Regions from separate parts of the Homo sapiens genome. Here region 2 is linked to region 1. Evidence: promoter capture Hi-C in 16 types of primary human blood cells and fetal thymus (Javierre and others, 2016). All regions are on one chromosome and are shown on one strand. The core of a region is centred on a gene start or on the middle of the fragment in contact, and the rest is flanking DNA. Distances in the headings are between cores, read along the strand shown.

Region 1 (7,405 bases), core at 1,384-3,883:
GAGACTTAATGGCAAATATTTCTAAACTTTTCTCTGAATTTCCTGGTTCTTTAGGGCTCCTGATAAAACCTTTAAGGTGACCTGAATATAGCTATTTTGAAACTTAATTCAGTTGCAACACAGGAGCTTAAAGACATTGCTTTGAATAAAATCCTGGAATATCTGTTCCCTGAATCTCAGGCTCCTGCTGCATATGGTAAGAATAAAAAGAGAGTTGCAGCTGAAAACCTGCAGCAAGACAGTTCTCACTCATCTGGGAATAGAAGGAGTTGGACAAATGCTCCCTCAAAAGGCATGAACATTTGGACAGAGCTGGGGACTGAAAGAGAATGATGTTCTCTAGTTTCACCCATTAGTGAACCAACTAACAAATACAATGGTGTTGTTGTTATTCTTTTGCCATAAGCAACAGGACTCTGTGTGTGGGCAGCAGTTTAGTGGGGAGGAGGATAAGTCGACCCCTTTTTGTCCTATTGATTTTTTCCTATTTGCATGACTTGAGCAAATTAAATGATGCAATATGGCTTTTTGTTACAAAACAAAGTGAGAGATACCACCCAGACACATATGTTGATTCGTAGGAGCTGTTTACATGAGAATAGAGTGAAATCTACCGTGAACTGAGCATAAAAATTAGATTCAGCCTGGGTATTTTTTTTTTTTATTATGCCTGGGCCAGCAAGACTGAAGCACAAGTTTTCCAAGAGTCTCTCAGACCTTGACAACTGGCAGTGTTCTAACAGAGGAATTCTTAATTAAACCTAAAATGGGGAAAGGGAGGGGGAGCAAAGACACCTGATTGTTTATTTCACGTGCAGTGATTGTTAATGATGTGAGCCAGCAATGATTCCTTGGAGTACAGTAGATACCACCCATGACTGCATCTCCTGGCAAGAACGATATTGCAAACTCAAAAACAAGCGTGCCTTTACAGTCAACAAACACCATGTTAGTATTTAAACTTATTAACACAAGGATAACGTAAATGCCATTACTCTTAAAACAAATTCTTAGAGTAGATCTTCCAAGACACCAACTGACCCTGAAAGTCTGAATTTATAATGTTACAAAATGACGGAGAATCGTCTCAGTTTTATGTGATAAATAACGCCCCAGCAAAATCTTTCGCCAGTTTTTTTCAGGTCCCTAACCGGAGGACCAGGAGTTCCTTTCTGTTGGTTTAACTAATGTAATGCAAGACACCCCCCTCTGACGGGGCTGGGGATCATAAACCAACCATGCTTCAACATCCTTTACGATTCAATCCTCTCCCTAACCGAGCACGTGGAGAAAACAGCACAAATCTTTTTACCCTAGAAAAATAAGCCGGAAACCACAGCCACCTTAATTTACAGTTTCACCGCAGCCAATGCCCCATTCGATCCAAAACACACTGTTCATCGCGATTCTTTTAAAATATTTACCCAGCCCAGGGTGCGGGTACCGCAGAAACGTCTGTTTTCAGAGATAGGCAAGTTTGCACAGCATCCCGACCGCGGACTCTGGGGGAGGAAATGCTACTTGCTTACCCCAGAGGAACACACAACGGAATCACGTTAGCGCTATAGAAAAGTTATGGAAAGAACTCCCCCAAAGAAGTTTTGACCTTCTTACAACCACCGGCTTTGCCAGAGCCACAGGGAACCCCACCCAGCCAATATGCCAAGTACGCATCCGTGAAGCCGGTGAGTGCCTACCTTATTCTCCAGGCGCCCTAGCCCCGGGCTGTCACTCCGCAGGCAGCAGGACAGCCGAGGGTAGAAGCCACCGCACAGCATCTCTCCCCCACTCAGCAGCTCCAGCTGGGACATCATCCTCCTGTCTCTCCTTTTCAGGCGCTTCGGGGGGTTCCCATTCAGGCACCTTCTCCTCCTTGCTCCGCTCCCTTCGTTTCTTTCCCCAAACTTAGCATCTCCTTCAAAGAAGCCCAGAGCCACGGCCAGCAGCAGCAGCTTAAAGGAGAGCATCTTCAGCATCGTCTGCCCAGAGCAGCAGGGGCTGGGCGCGGGAGGATGGGGGGGAACGCCACTGCCCAGCAGGGGCACTAGGGCGCAGCTCCAGGAGGAGTTTGCGGGGCTGTAGGGCACTCCAGAGACAGAGGGAGGTGGCGGGGACAAAAATATGTACAGCGATGCAACTTTGCAAAAAATAAAAGACGCGGCGATGGGTCCAATGCCTTAGGGGAGCCCGAGGAGCGAGATAAAGTTGTGCGGATGACACCGTTTGCAGTTGTGCCAGTGTCAGTTGGGTTGGGGGCTTTCTGCTGCGGCTGGGAAGTGGGAGGAGGAGAAGGAGTTGGAAGAGGAGGAAGAAAAGGAGAGGACAGCCACAGATGTTCACTTGTCCGTGTAACGGGAGTTGTTTAGGTGGGACAGTAGCAGGAACAGAAACGGCGACGGCGGCGGCGGGGCAGGCGGAGGCAGGGCCAGCGCTGGGCTCTAGATGATGCTGAGGTCTCCTCTGCCGGCGGCTGCAGCTTCTCACACAGCCTCTCATGTTTCGTTCCCTCTTTTCTTCTTCTTTTTAACTAGCGCGCGGGGAGGTGCTGCCACAGCGCGCCCCTTGACGTCACCGCTTCTCGCGCGCCCCCGCCCAGGGTGGAGGGAAGGGGAGGGGGCGGCCCCCGCGCGAGCGCGTCCCCCGGGCCCCGGCGGCCTCCCTGCTGCGGCGGGGAGGGGCGGCTAGCCGCGACGGCGGCGGACGGAGGGGGAGGGCCGCGAGCCTTCGGAACCAGCCTCGAGGGTGCTGAACCCCGCGCGCCCGCCTCGCCGCGGCCCCCGGGTGGGGGCGTCCACGGCCCGGGTTCCCGGCGGGCTTGGGGCAGGGACGCAGTCCGGAGATTCCGGGACTGCCCGGCTGCTGCAGCCCGCAGGCTCCTCTCTCCTCCCCGCTTCCCCTCCGCACTGCCTGGGCTAAAGGCGGCCAAGCTGAGGCTCCGAAAGAAAGTAAGTAAGAGTGGGCCGTAGGAGGTGGGAAGGGAGGGACCCCTTCCAGGGCCATCCCCACCTCAGCCCCCCGGCCCGCCCCTCGCCCCGTGGGAGGGTGAACTAAGTGGGCTGGAGCGGACGGGAGGGAGCTTTTGGGCCCCTTTGTCTCCCCCAGCCGCACTGACACCCCCATTTTCCACACTGATTTTCAACGTGAAGCTCAAGTCCTCAAAGATCTTTCTTGGGGTCTGACTTAGAGGCAGGGGGACATCCCAGATGCCGTTGAGTAGGCTGAGATGGTTTGGAGACTCATCCTCGCCGGAGGTCCTGCAAGCCACTGAAGTGGCACAGACGCGTGTGCGCGGAGTGGGGCGGTGTGTCGGGCCACAGGCCAAGCCCAAGTCGGCCTCCCAGAGTGTTTGCCACGGTTTGGGCGGGTTAGTCCCCGACGCCCCTTTCAGGTCCCCACATGTGTTCGGGAATAAGCCGGGCCCCGCTGGTACCATCTGGGAACACAAGTTCTTGGGCCGCAGGTGGACGGAGAGAGAAGCTGGGCGCGGAATTAGTGTTCGTTTTAACACACACAAACACACACACACACACACACACACACACACCTGCACGCACGCGCGCGCAGTCCCTGGGGAGAGGTTCCCCTGGGTGTAGAAACAGAGGCGTTAGATCTGGAGAAAGAATTAGATGCAAGTCTGAGGGCATCCAGAAGCGCTGTGCTCTACTTATCCCCGTGTATACAAGTAAATTAACCTTTTCCCCAGCTAGACAAAGTCTGTGTAAATAGTGTGTCTAAAAAGATGTCTACGTTATCAGGAGCGGTGACTTGAGGTTTACTGGATCCCTGCAAGTTGGCATCAGGACGAGCTTCTATAGGGTTGCCCACAAAATGCGCTTCTAGCCCACTTGGGTATTTAACAGAGAAGCTGATTTCCCAGAAGATGGGCTTTGATGAGGAGATAAGGCAGTTGTCCCATTTTGGCAATGGAGGAATGTTCACCACATTTGGGTTTGCTTCACTTGTTGGACATTGATTTCGCCAAGTGATTGCAAAAGTTGGTGATGGTTGAGGTGGGCAGTTGATTAAATTAATCACTTCTGGTCACAGTGGCTAGGTAAGGCTTCTGTCTTTTTCACTTCCTGAGCCTGGATATTAGTGAAGTTAGGTTTTTCCCCAAAGAGATGACACATCAGAATAACTGAAAAGAATCTGCTAGGATGTTTGGCCCAGTCCTCAGCTAAATGTAGAGCCCCCATGACATATTTAACATTTTCCCCAGGGGCTGTTGTATACACATGACTTCTTCATGCATGTGATTGTAAGTCCACTTTGGATCTCACATACTTTTTTTTATCTGACATTCTTTCTGCTTTGAGGACTTTTAATATAAAATTAATCAGAAAGCAGTAAGCACTTTAAGACTTTAAACTCATTAATAGATCTCCAGATGAATCTCATCAAATTTAAATCACTTGCACAATTTCATCTCATTAGGTAGTTTGAGAATAAGGACTCGGATCCAATCTGGGGTGCTTTCCACTATCTAACCCTTTCTTCCCAAATTCCAGTTTTATATTCTTTTTCCAAAATAAAAGTCCTTCTAAAATCGTATTTCAGTAGTTTGAGCTCCTACTCTGATAAATTCCTGTTAGTAGTTTTGAAACAGGCCTTTCTTATGGCTTATACTAAGGCCACTTAAAGGTAAATTTATTTTGGTTTTAAAATACTATGCATCTGTTATAACCTACGACCCTAAGATATAGAAAGTTTATAAAAGATTACTGAAATAAGACATGCTTGTTATTTCTTGATATATGGAAATTAGAATTGATTTCATATACTGTTTGTCCTGAAAGTCAATAAATTGGGTCACTTAGGAGATAGCTTGAGCTTATTCTTAGTGTTACTGATATAATTTCTAAACAGTTACTAAGCAGTGTTATACAAATGGACTAACTTCTGATTTGTTTTTTCCAGAGGGAAAATTGCAACCCTTGCCTACAACCAGACTGACAGCATAATTTCTTAGGAATCAAGAATCAATACAGGGTTATTTCTTTAGATTAAACCTTAAAAGCCCCCTTGGAGGCTGAAGAAGCAGAGGATAGCCATGCATACACTTGAACGTGAAAAATGGTCCTCTTTCATTGGAGAGGTCTTCCTCTTCAGCTAAACCGACAGAGTGGTGAAAAGAAGAAGGGACCCCTTGTTGACCAAAATAATCCAGACAAATCAAATCGGCCCTTTCCAGCAAGGAGTGGAACAGCCCAAGGGTGGCTAGATCACATCTTCTGCTCACACCACCACTGAGCAACCCTCTCCAGGACTGCCACCTATGCATAGGTCATGCCCTGTGCAAGAGCACATAAAGTGGGAGCTGAAGTCCTGCCCAGGCTCCATTCACCAAGCAGAGCTTATGTTGTTGTGTGTCTGTGTCTACCCAGAGGATGTGGGTCCTTTTTAAAATGTGCACCAATGCATCTTGTATGAGCTGGCACCAGCTCGGACCATCCCACCCTCATACCCTGGTCCTATCCAGGGTTATATTCCCTACTTTAGAAGAATTAATTATTTTTATGAACGTATTTAGTTTATTGTAAAAAATGAAATATATGACACAAATTGAAATTAATTTCAGAGGTAAAGGTCAGAATATTACCATGTATGTGAATTATGTTTGTATGTATATGTATATATCAAGAGAGTTATATGAATATACATTTTTGTGTATCAGAAGTGAGGACAATTTAACTTTGTTAAGTGTTTGAAATAAAATTATTTTGAGTTTTGGAATCAGTTTTATGTATGGATTTCTGGCCTTCACAGAAATATGTACTATTTAATTCCATTTCAACAAATATATATTAAGTGTCAGGCACCGTGCTAAACAGTATGTATATAGTACTGAAAAATAATGCAAACACCCTGCTTCTAGGTAGTTAATAATCTAGTATAGAAGACAAATGATAAGGTCACAAATAAAATTACAGTTATAAATTGTGGTAAAAGGTATGAAAGAAATGCTAAGGTACAGAATAACAAAGCACACCTATTTCAGATTAAGTGACTGGAAAAAACTTCTCTGGGAAAATGACATTTCAGTTGAGACTTAGGATGACTTGGAAGGAGTACGAAGTGACTCCAACCACTGTTTAAAGTATAGGATCTTTTGAGTTCAGAATATAATTTGATACATTTGAGGAGAAGTGCAGAATAGATAACTCAGAATGGAAAGGCTAGAGGCCAAATTCGTAGATTTTTAGTTTATACACTCCAGGTAACTAATTAAGTTAGTGCCATGTATTTGTCATTTCCTTTTGTTTTTGCAAGTGCTCTTTCTTTCCTACCTTATACTTATCCATCTTTGTCTCTTTCTTTAAATTCTGGCTTAACAGCAACCTCTTCTAAGAATTATTCTAGTTTGAATGGCCTTTCAAGCATTGCACTTCATCTAAAAAGCATATAGATACATTTTATTTATTTTCTTTTGTGCATCATTGGTAAATACCTGAGATGTTTTTATATGTGCAAGTTGAATATTCATGAGATTATAATCTCCAGAAGGGCAGGAATTGCATTTCCTTCTTTGGAGACGCCAACATAGTTTAGTTTAGACTCATAGTAGAGCAACCGGCCTCTCAATAAATGCTGCTGAGTGGCTGATCTTGATTGAGTTGATAATTTTTAAAGGTTTAAAATGGAGCTCATATTTGCATTATAAAAACTTTAAATTGGGCCAGGCACAGTGGCTTGCCCCTGTAATCCCAGCAACTGGGGAGTCCAAGGTAGGAGGATTGATTGAGCCCCAGAGTTCGAGACCAACCTGGGCAACATAGTGAGACTCCATCTCTAAAAAAATTAGAAAAATTATCCGGGCATGGTGGAGCACACCTGTAGTCCCAACCACTTGGGAAGCTGAGGTGGGGGGATCACTTGAGCCCAGGAGATCAAGGCTGCATGCAGTGAGCTATGATTGCACTGCACTCCAGCCTGGGTGACAGAACAAGACCCTGTCTCAAAAAGTAAATTTTGAAATAGAAGAAAGCACACAATTTAAAGTGCACCATCACTAAGGAAGTGCAGCTGACCTTTCTACTAAAGTGTGATTCCACAGAGGAAGGACGGCCAGCAAAGCGAGGCAATAAATACACAGCCTTTAAAAATTAAAGATTGGTTATAATTCAGGTAAATGGACACAATGGTAGGGCTGCTTCTAGGATTTTTTCTACAGTTAGTCTTTCTTTCAAAAGTCAGCACCTACTGTGTGCCAGAGCCTGCTCTGGACCCTAGGAACACAGCAGTGAACAAAACTTTTTTCATGGAACTCATATTGTAATGGGGAAGACGGGTAACGATATAGAGTATACCAGATGGGGAGGAATGCTGCAGAGAAAAGGGAGCATGGGGAAAGATTGCAGGGGTTGGGAGAAATAATAATTTTGTATACATTGTCAGGAAAAGTGTT
Region 2 (7,405 bases), core at 2,040-4,539, 440 kb before region 1:
CAAAAAATAACAATACAACAACAAAAATAACACAAATAGAAAAACAACACTGTACAACTTTTTACATATTTACATTATATTAGGTATTATAAGTAATCTAGAGATGATTTGAAGTATACAAGAGGAGCCATTTTAAATAAGGGACTTGTGCATCAGTGGATTTCGTTAACCACAGAGGTCCTGGTACCAATCCTCGTTGGATGCCAAGAAATGATAATATGTGCAGAGGTATACAACTTAAACAAAACATGGCTTAGTCAATTAATTTCATGTAGTAAATGAGACTAGAAATAGGGAAATGGCGTATGTGAAGCTGTATAGTTAGGTAGAAGCCTGATTATAGAAGACTTTATTAAACAATTCATACTTTACTGTATAGATAATATGAGCAGTTGAAAAGGTAAGTAACAGAGTAAAACAATCAGTGTTTGTTCATATTTGAGAAGTGTGGAGGATGGATTGAAGTGAGGCAAGATTAGAAATAAAAAGGAAATCAGGAGACGCGATAAATCAGATAGGAAGTGATATAAAGGAGAATTTTAAGAAATTTTCAAAATGTTAATGTCAGTCTTTGGGAGATACAGATTTACTTGCCTGCTACAGGATGGTAGGTGGCACATGGCTTTGCAAAAATCTTTTTGTATCTTTGAAATAATGGTTCAATATTTCATTCAGATTAAAGTTGGAATGTGTTTAGTAGATTCAGCTTAGTTGAACACACACCACAAAACAATCTTACAATTCAGCACAATTGTTAGTCTCTACCTAAGAGACTGGAAAAACAAAAGAACAAATTTGTGTTATGACTGCTACCGTATAATAGGGTCTTTTAAAATAATTTAATCATTTCATAAGCACCAAATTAATCCAATGTTGAAAAACAAATTTAGGGGAAAAATAAGTACATCTGCTGTGCTTAACTCTATATTTGATACAAAGAAGGGATTCAGTATGGCTGTATTTTGTGAACATCTTACAGGGCTTATATGCTATTTGTTCCCTGTTTTTTTTTGAAGACATTGAGTTAATTCTTAGAAGGTTAATGGGATGTTGTAAATTCTGTTTTTCTTAAAATAAAAATCACTAAATTTTTATTGAAGTTCATGCTATAACTGACAATTATGGCCTTTGAGTTAAAGGATTTCTGAGTTGAATAGTGATATTTGCTTTGCAGAAAATAAGACAGCAATATAATAGAAAGTAACTTTAAGTGGGAGGCTACATTAGTTTGTGGGATTATGGAAGGCCTCTTTTATAAGTGAAATTTGCACAGAGACATGAATGTTAAGAAGAATTCATTGTGCAAAGATTTCAGAGAAGAACTTTCTTGACACCAGGAAGTTAGTTCAAAGGCTCTAAGTTAGTTGATTTGGCATTTTAGAGGTTCAGAAAGAAGGCTATAGGGGCTGGAGAGCAGTGAGTAAGGAGGAGAAATGGTAGAGTGGATTGGAAATGTAATTAGACATGGTGGGACAGATTATATGAACTCTTGTAGGCCCTGAAAAAGAGTATTGATTTTAAGTACAAAGGGAAACCACTGGAGGTGTTAAGCAGGAGAGGAAGATGATCTGATACAGAATTTTTAAAAGATGACTGTGTCCACTGTGGATAATGGTTGATAGTGGCATAATGGTGAACACCAATGGAGGAAATGATGTTATAGTAATTTATGTTAGAGATGATGTTGATTTGGACTAGGATTAAGAACTGTTGATATGGAAAGGAATGATGGCTTTGGGATATATTTTTAGAGGTGGAATAATTACGATTCACAGGAGGAAACCTTCAGAGTGACCTTTCTGGCAGAACAACTCATACTGTTTCCTGAGTTGAGAAAGAAGGAGGGAGTGGAGGGAGTAAATAGATTTTGGGTCAAAAAATAAATAATTTAATTTATATATGTTAATTTTGCAATGCCTATTTTTCTAGTTGAAATGTTTAGTAAGCAATTGACTGTAGAGGCTGGGAGCTCTGCTTGAAGTTCTGGGTTGGAGATACAAATTTGAAGGTCATCAGTGTGCCAATGATATTCTAAGGGAACTGGACTAACTCATCTAGGGAGAGAATTTAGAGAAAAGAATAAAGCTTTGGGACACTTGAAGATGAAGAGATCTGGCAGAATAGTGGAAGAGGTGTCAACAAAGGATACTAAGAAGTGGCTAGTGAACTAGGAGGAAAACCAAGAGAGTGAGAAATCATGGATAGAAGTCAAGAGGAAACAAGTGTTTCAGGAAGTTAGTTAATTCTTCATTTCTCTTTTATTTTTATTCTTTGAGGTGGAGTCTCGCTCTGTTGCCCAAGCTGGAGTGCAGTGGTGCGATCTCAGCTCACTGCAACCTCCACCTCCCGGGTTCAAGTGATTCTCCTGCCTTAGCCTCCCAGGTAGCTAAGATTATAGGTGCGCACCACCACACTCAGCTAATTTTTTTTATTTTTAGTTTAGACAGGGTTTCACCATGTTGGCCAGGCTGATCTCAAACTCTTGACCTCAAGTGATCCGCCCACCTCAGCCTCCCAAAATGCTGGGATTATAGGCATGAGTCATTGCGCCTGGCCTCATCTCTTTATTGTTGTACTAATACTTCATATTATAATCTATTTGCTTAAATCTATCAGTGCTGTCCATTAGAACTTAGTGCACCATGCAGTGAGGTAACTACTAGCTACATGAAACTATTGAACATTTGAAATGTTACTACTGTTACTGAGGAACTAAATTTTTAATTTTACTTCGTTTAAATGTATATAGCCACAGTGTAGGTCTAGTGCATGATATGGATGAACTTCTCTACAGAGACCATTTGTATCTATCTTTAGGTCTTCATAGTTAAGACATTTGCCTCAGTTAAAATAGCCCCCTAGCAGAGCCTAAGGAGGTTGAGGCTGCAGTGAGCTGTGATCGTACCACTGTACTCCAGCCAGGGCAACAGAATGAGACCCTGTCTCAAAAAAAAAGAAAAAAACAGCCCCTTAGCAAATGTGAAAGTAGTTGTGTTAATAGATATGCTTGAAAGGAAAATGACTGTTTTATTCATAAAGGCAGTCTAAGCTGGGCTGCTCAAATATGTCTCTAGTGGTGTTGTGTTAGTGCTCTTGCTCCACTAATGCTGCTTAACGAACAACCCTAGTCTCTCAGTGGCATGATCAGCCAAATTTACTTTGTGCTTTGGTGATGGCTCGGCTTTAGGCTGTGAGTCAGGTTCAAGTCTGCTCCATTTGTCCAGGCATATTCTCTTAGTGGAGTGCAGAGCATTCAGAAGACCAAGCCAGACTTTGCAAGCACATTTACCGCCTCTGCTTGTGTCACAGTGTATTGACTGAAGTAAGTCATGATTTAGCCCCGTTATTGACTGGAGTGCAGAATCGTATCCCTCCCATGGAGAGTGGGGAGAGAAGCATGAATATTTACCAAACAATAACAATAACCATAGATGAATACTGATTTTCTTTTCTTTAGGGCAGTTGCTCTCACCAGGGGATGCTTTTACCCTCCAGGGTACAAAGTCTGGAGATATTTTTGATTGTTGTGATTACTGGGGACATGAGGGTGGGGGGAGTTGGGGAGTTGGGGGAGTGTTTCTATTGGCATCTAGTGGGTAGAGCCCAGGGATACAGCTAAATACCTTTCAATGCACTGGACATCCCCTGTACTGAACAAAGAATTATTCAGTCCAAAATATCAGTACTGCCATGATTGAGAAACCTTGCCTTAGAGGAGTAATTCTAACATTTTAGCATGCATCAGAATCACCTAGAGGATTTATCACAACATAAACTCTCAAAAGGGCTGAGCTCTCAAAGTTTCTGATACATGTCTAGAATTCCTAACAAGTTCCCAGGTGGTAATGATGCTGCTGGTTCAGGAACGACACTGTACGAACCACTGCATTAGAGAACCAGTACATCATATAATAACTGCATTGGAGAACCAGTACCTCTTATAAAAGTTTTTTTCTGTGTAATATTGTTATTTGTGTGGATTTTCTGGATACCTGTTAAAGCAGTTATCATAGATACGTCTTTGTTTTAGTTCTTTTGTTTAAATTAAAACAATTCAGGGCCGGACACGGTGGCTCATGCCAGTAATCTAAGCACTTTGGGAGACTGAGGCCAGTGGATCACTTGAGGTCAGGAGTTTGAGACCAATCTGGCCGACATGGTGAAACCCTATCTCCACTAAAAATACAAAAATTAGCTGGGCGTGTTGGCAGGCGCCTGTAATCCCAGCTACTCTGGGGGAGGCTGAGGCAAGTCTTCACTCTTACGTCCTTCATATTTTAGACTTTTATTTTTTGAAGCTCTGCCCCCTGCAAAGGTGAGCTTCAGCCACCTGCAACAGTCACTTCTGGGAATTGCTTGAACCCAGGAGGTGGAGGTTGCAGTGAGCTGAAATCGCGCCACTGCACTGCAGCCTGGGCGGCAAAGTGAGACTCCATCTTAAAAAAAAAAAAAAAGAAAAAAAATTCAAATACAATACTGAGTGGGAAGCTTTGGAAAAGAGGTTGAGACGGGATTGGCACATAAGGAGATGTTTGTAAGAGGTTCCGTTTGTAAGGCATATTGAAGAAGCAAAAGTTGGTAATCATACTTAGTATTTCAGACATAAAGATTTAGACTAATCAGTACTTGAAGATATTAGACCTGCTTAGTTGTACTATGATACTTTCTAAGCAATAAATTAGAGACAAATTTTAAATGATCAGTTTTGAATTATAGGACATTTCTTATTCTGAATAAATTATTCAGATTTGTGTTTAATTTTTTTTTTGCATTTTAAGAACAAATACTATTTTGTTCTTTGAACCTCTTTGAGCACATACATAATAAAGTTGTGAAATGGAGGAGAAAAAAAACCTAGCTGAGGTAGCCAAAATAAAATAACTGAAAAAAAAAACCTTTTAATCAATAGAACATTAAACTGTGGAGCTTTTACGGAAGAATCGTGATTTAGTTATCCTTTACTAGGGAACTCAAAAACTAGTACTAAAAAGAAAAAGAGAGTTAAGACCTATAACTCTTTATATTGGAGGTAAAACAGTTATTTTTATTTTTATTTTTATTTTTTTGTCCGTTTCTCGCACTGTTGCCCAGGCTAGAGTGCAGTGGTACAGTCATGGCTTACTACAGCCTCGAACTCCAGGACTCAAGTGATCCCCCTGCCTCAGCCACATGAGTGCCATCACGCCTGGCTAAGTTTTTTTATTTTTTGTATAGACAGTGTCTCACTATGTTGCACAGGCTGGTAAAACAGCTTTTTATCTTGTAACTTGCATTACCTAATATTCTGGATTAGCTTTAGCAATATTGTGTAAAGAACGAAGCATGATTTGAAGCATGACTGTCCAATAGAATATGTGACGTGAAATATATATACAAGTTTCATGGGGAATTTTATAGTAGCTACGTTTAAAAGGGCTAAAAATAGGTGAAATTAATTGTAATAATATTTTTAAATCTAGTATAACTGGACTACTATTACTAATGACATATTTTACATTTTGTCCTAATCTTCAAACCAGTGTGTATTTTAACACTTACAGCACATCTCAATTTGGACTTGCTATATTTCAAGTAGCCACATGTGGCTAGTGGCTACCGTATTGGACAGTGCAGATTTAAGAGTTACGGAAGAAGTAATAGCCCAATTTTTACATTTTATCGACATATATGGCCCAGGACAGCTTTGAATGCAGACCAAATTAGTAAACTTTTTTGAAACATTATGAATTTTTTTTTTTTTAGCTCATCAACTATTGTTAATGTTAGTGTATTTTATGTGTGGCCCAAGACAGTTCTTCTTCCAGTGTGGCCCAGGGAAGCCAAAAGATTAGACACCCCTGGTCTGTGTGATCTGGCTCCTTTGATATGTCTGGCTTATTTCCTGCTTCACACCAATGTATTGCCTTAGCTCTCAAAGGACCCACTGTTGTTTTCCATGTATGCCATTTTTCTTGATTCATGACATTATATGCTTATCTCTTTGCTGAATGCCCCTGAATCTTACCATTCTACCTCTTTATCTAGCTAACTAGTAATTTGAAATTCAATGCAAAACTCATTTTCTCTGGATAAACTTCTTTTATCCACTAGTATGCACAATAAAGGCAGCAGATGCAAATTTAAGATACAAATCCATTCATGTTTGGATTACGTGGAACAGACATAGTGTTAATATCCATAATAGTGACTGAATGTGGTGGCACATGCCTGTGGTTCCAGCTACCTAGATGACTGAGGTGGGAGGATTGCATAAACCCAGCAGGTCATGGCTGCAGTGAGCTTTGATGGTGCTACTGCATTCCAGCCTGTGTGTCAGAGCAAGACCCTGTCTCAAAAAGAAAAAAAAAAAAGATCTGTAATAGTAAAAGTGTTATGAATAATCAAAAGACCTAAGTTTATTGAAAATATAGGAGGATATGAATAAGCATGAAAATATAAATATTAATAAATGTGAAATACAATTTTTTTAATCTATCAGGTGAGTAAATATTTAAAAGATTAACTGCATTTTTGCCTGGGTGCAGAGCAGTGCTATCCAACAGAAATGTAACACAAACCACATTTGTAATTTAAAATTATCTAGCAACAACGTTAAAAAAATTTTATAAAAGTGCAATTATTCTATTTTTCTCAGTATGTTCAAAATATCCCTTCAACATATAATCAATATAAAAACATTAGATATATATTTAAAGTTTTTGTCATACAAAGTCATCAAAATCTGGTATATTAATTTCAGAACATACCAACTTTTACTAGCCATTGAGAGGGAATAGGTATTCTTTTACATTTTTGGTGAGGAAATGTTTTAGAGGACAATTTGGCAATATTTATCAAATTAAAGATTCAAATGACCCAGGATTCTATTCCTAGAAATCTATTCTCTAGAAATAACATATATTTAAAGATTGTAGACAGCTAGGTGTTTATTGCAGTATTGTTTGTAATAGCAAAACATTGGAAACAACCTAAATGTTCTGCAGAGGTGTGGTGAGATAATTATGATATTTCCAGACAGTGGTAGAATATACAACCTTAAAAAATATGGAAGCTGTTTATGTTGTTATATGAGCTAATAAATATTAGATTATTTAACATATATAAAATGTTTAGAATGCGCCTGGCACATAGTTAATGTGATATCAGTGTTTGTTATTGTTATTATTGTTGTTAATTTATTGATATGGAATAAATATTCGTATGGTAAAAAACTCCAGATATGTTAAGTAAAATTAAAAAACACCAACATGCAGAGCTATTTACTGTATGCTATCATTTGTTTAAAGAAAAGGGAATAGAAAGAATACATATATGACTGCTTGTATATGCATATAGTATCTGTGAAAGGGCATGCAATAAACTGAAAACATTAACTATATTTGGAGAGAAGAATGAGATGGTAGAT

Evidence for each region. Contacts are between HindIII fragments. The CHiCAGO score rates a contact against its expected background, and 5 or more counts as called.
Region 2: a fragment that was not itself captured here is called in contact with the fragment with the promoter of HHIP-AS1 in region 1 in 1 of 17 cell types (fetal thymus); the score reaches 5.3 in fetal thymus.

What each region holds. Positions count from the first base shown.
Region 1 is chr4:144,641,247-144,648,651 of GRCh38, reverse strand. It overlaps HHIP-AS1 (HHIP antisense RNA 1), which reads left to right and starts at 2,633. Exons shown (of 2, transcript NR_037595.1): 1 at 2,633-2,945; 2 at 4,918-5,736. It overlaps HHIP (hedgehog interacting protein), which reads right to left and starts at 2,496. Exons shown (of 13, transcript NM_022475.3): 1 at 1,698-2,496. The coding sequence starts at 1,976. RefSeq lists enhancers at 137-725, 1,966-2,531. The HindIII fragment of the contact is 14,814 bases long and covers 1-7,405 here.
Region 2 is chr4:145,082,916-145,090,320 of GRCh38, reverse strand. The region is part of intron 2 of ANAPC10 (anaphase promoting complex subunit 10); the gene reads left to right. Among named protein-coding and RNA genes, the nearest start is that of ANAPC10, 12 kb to the left of the region's middle. The HindIII fragment of the contact is 2,403 bases long and covers 2,088-4,490 here.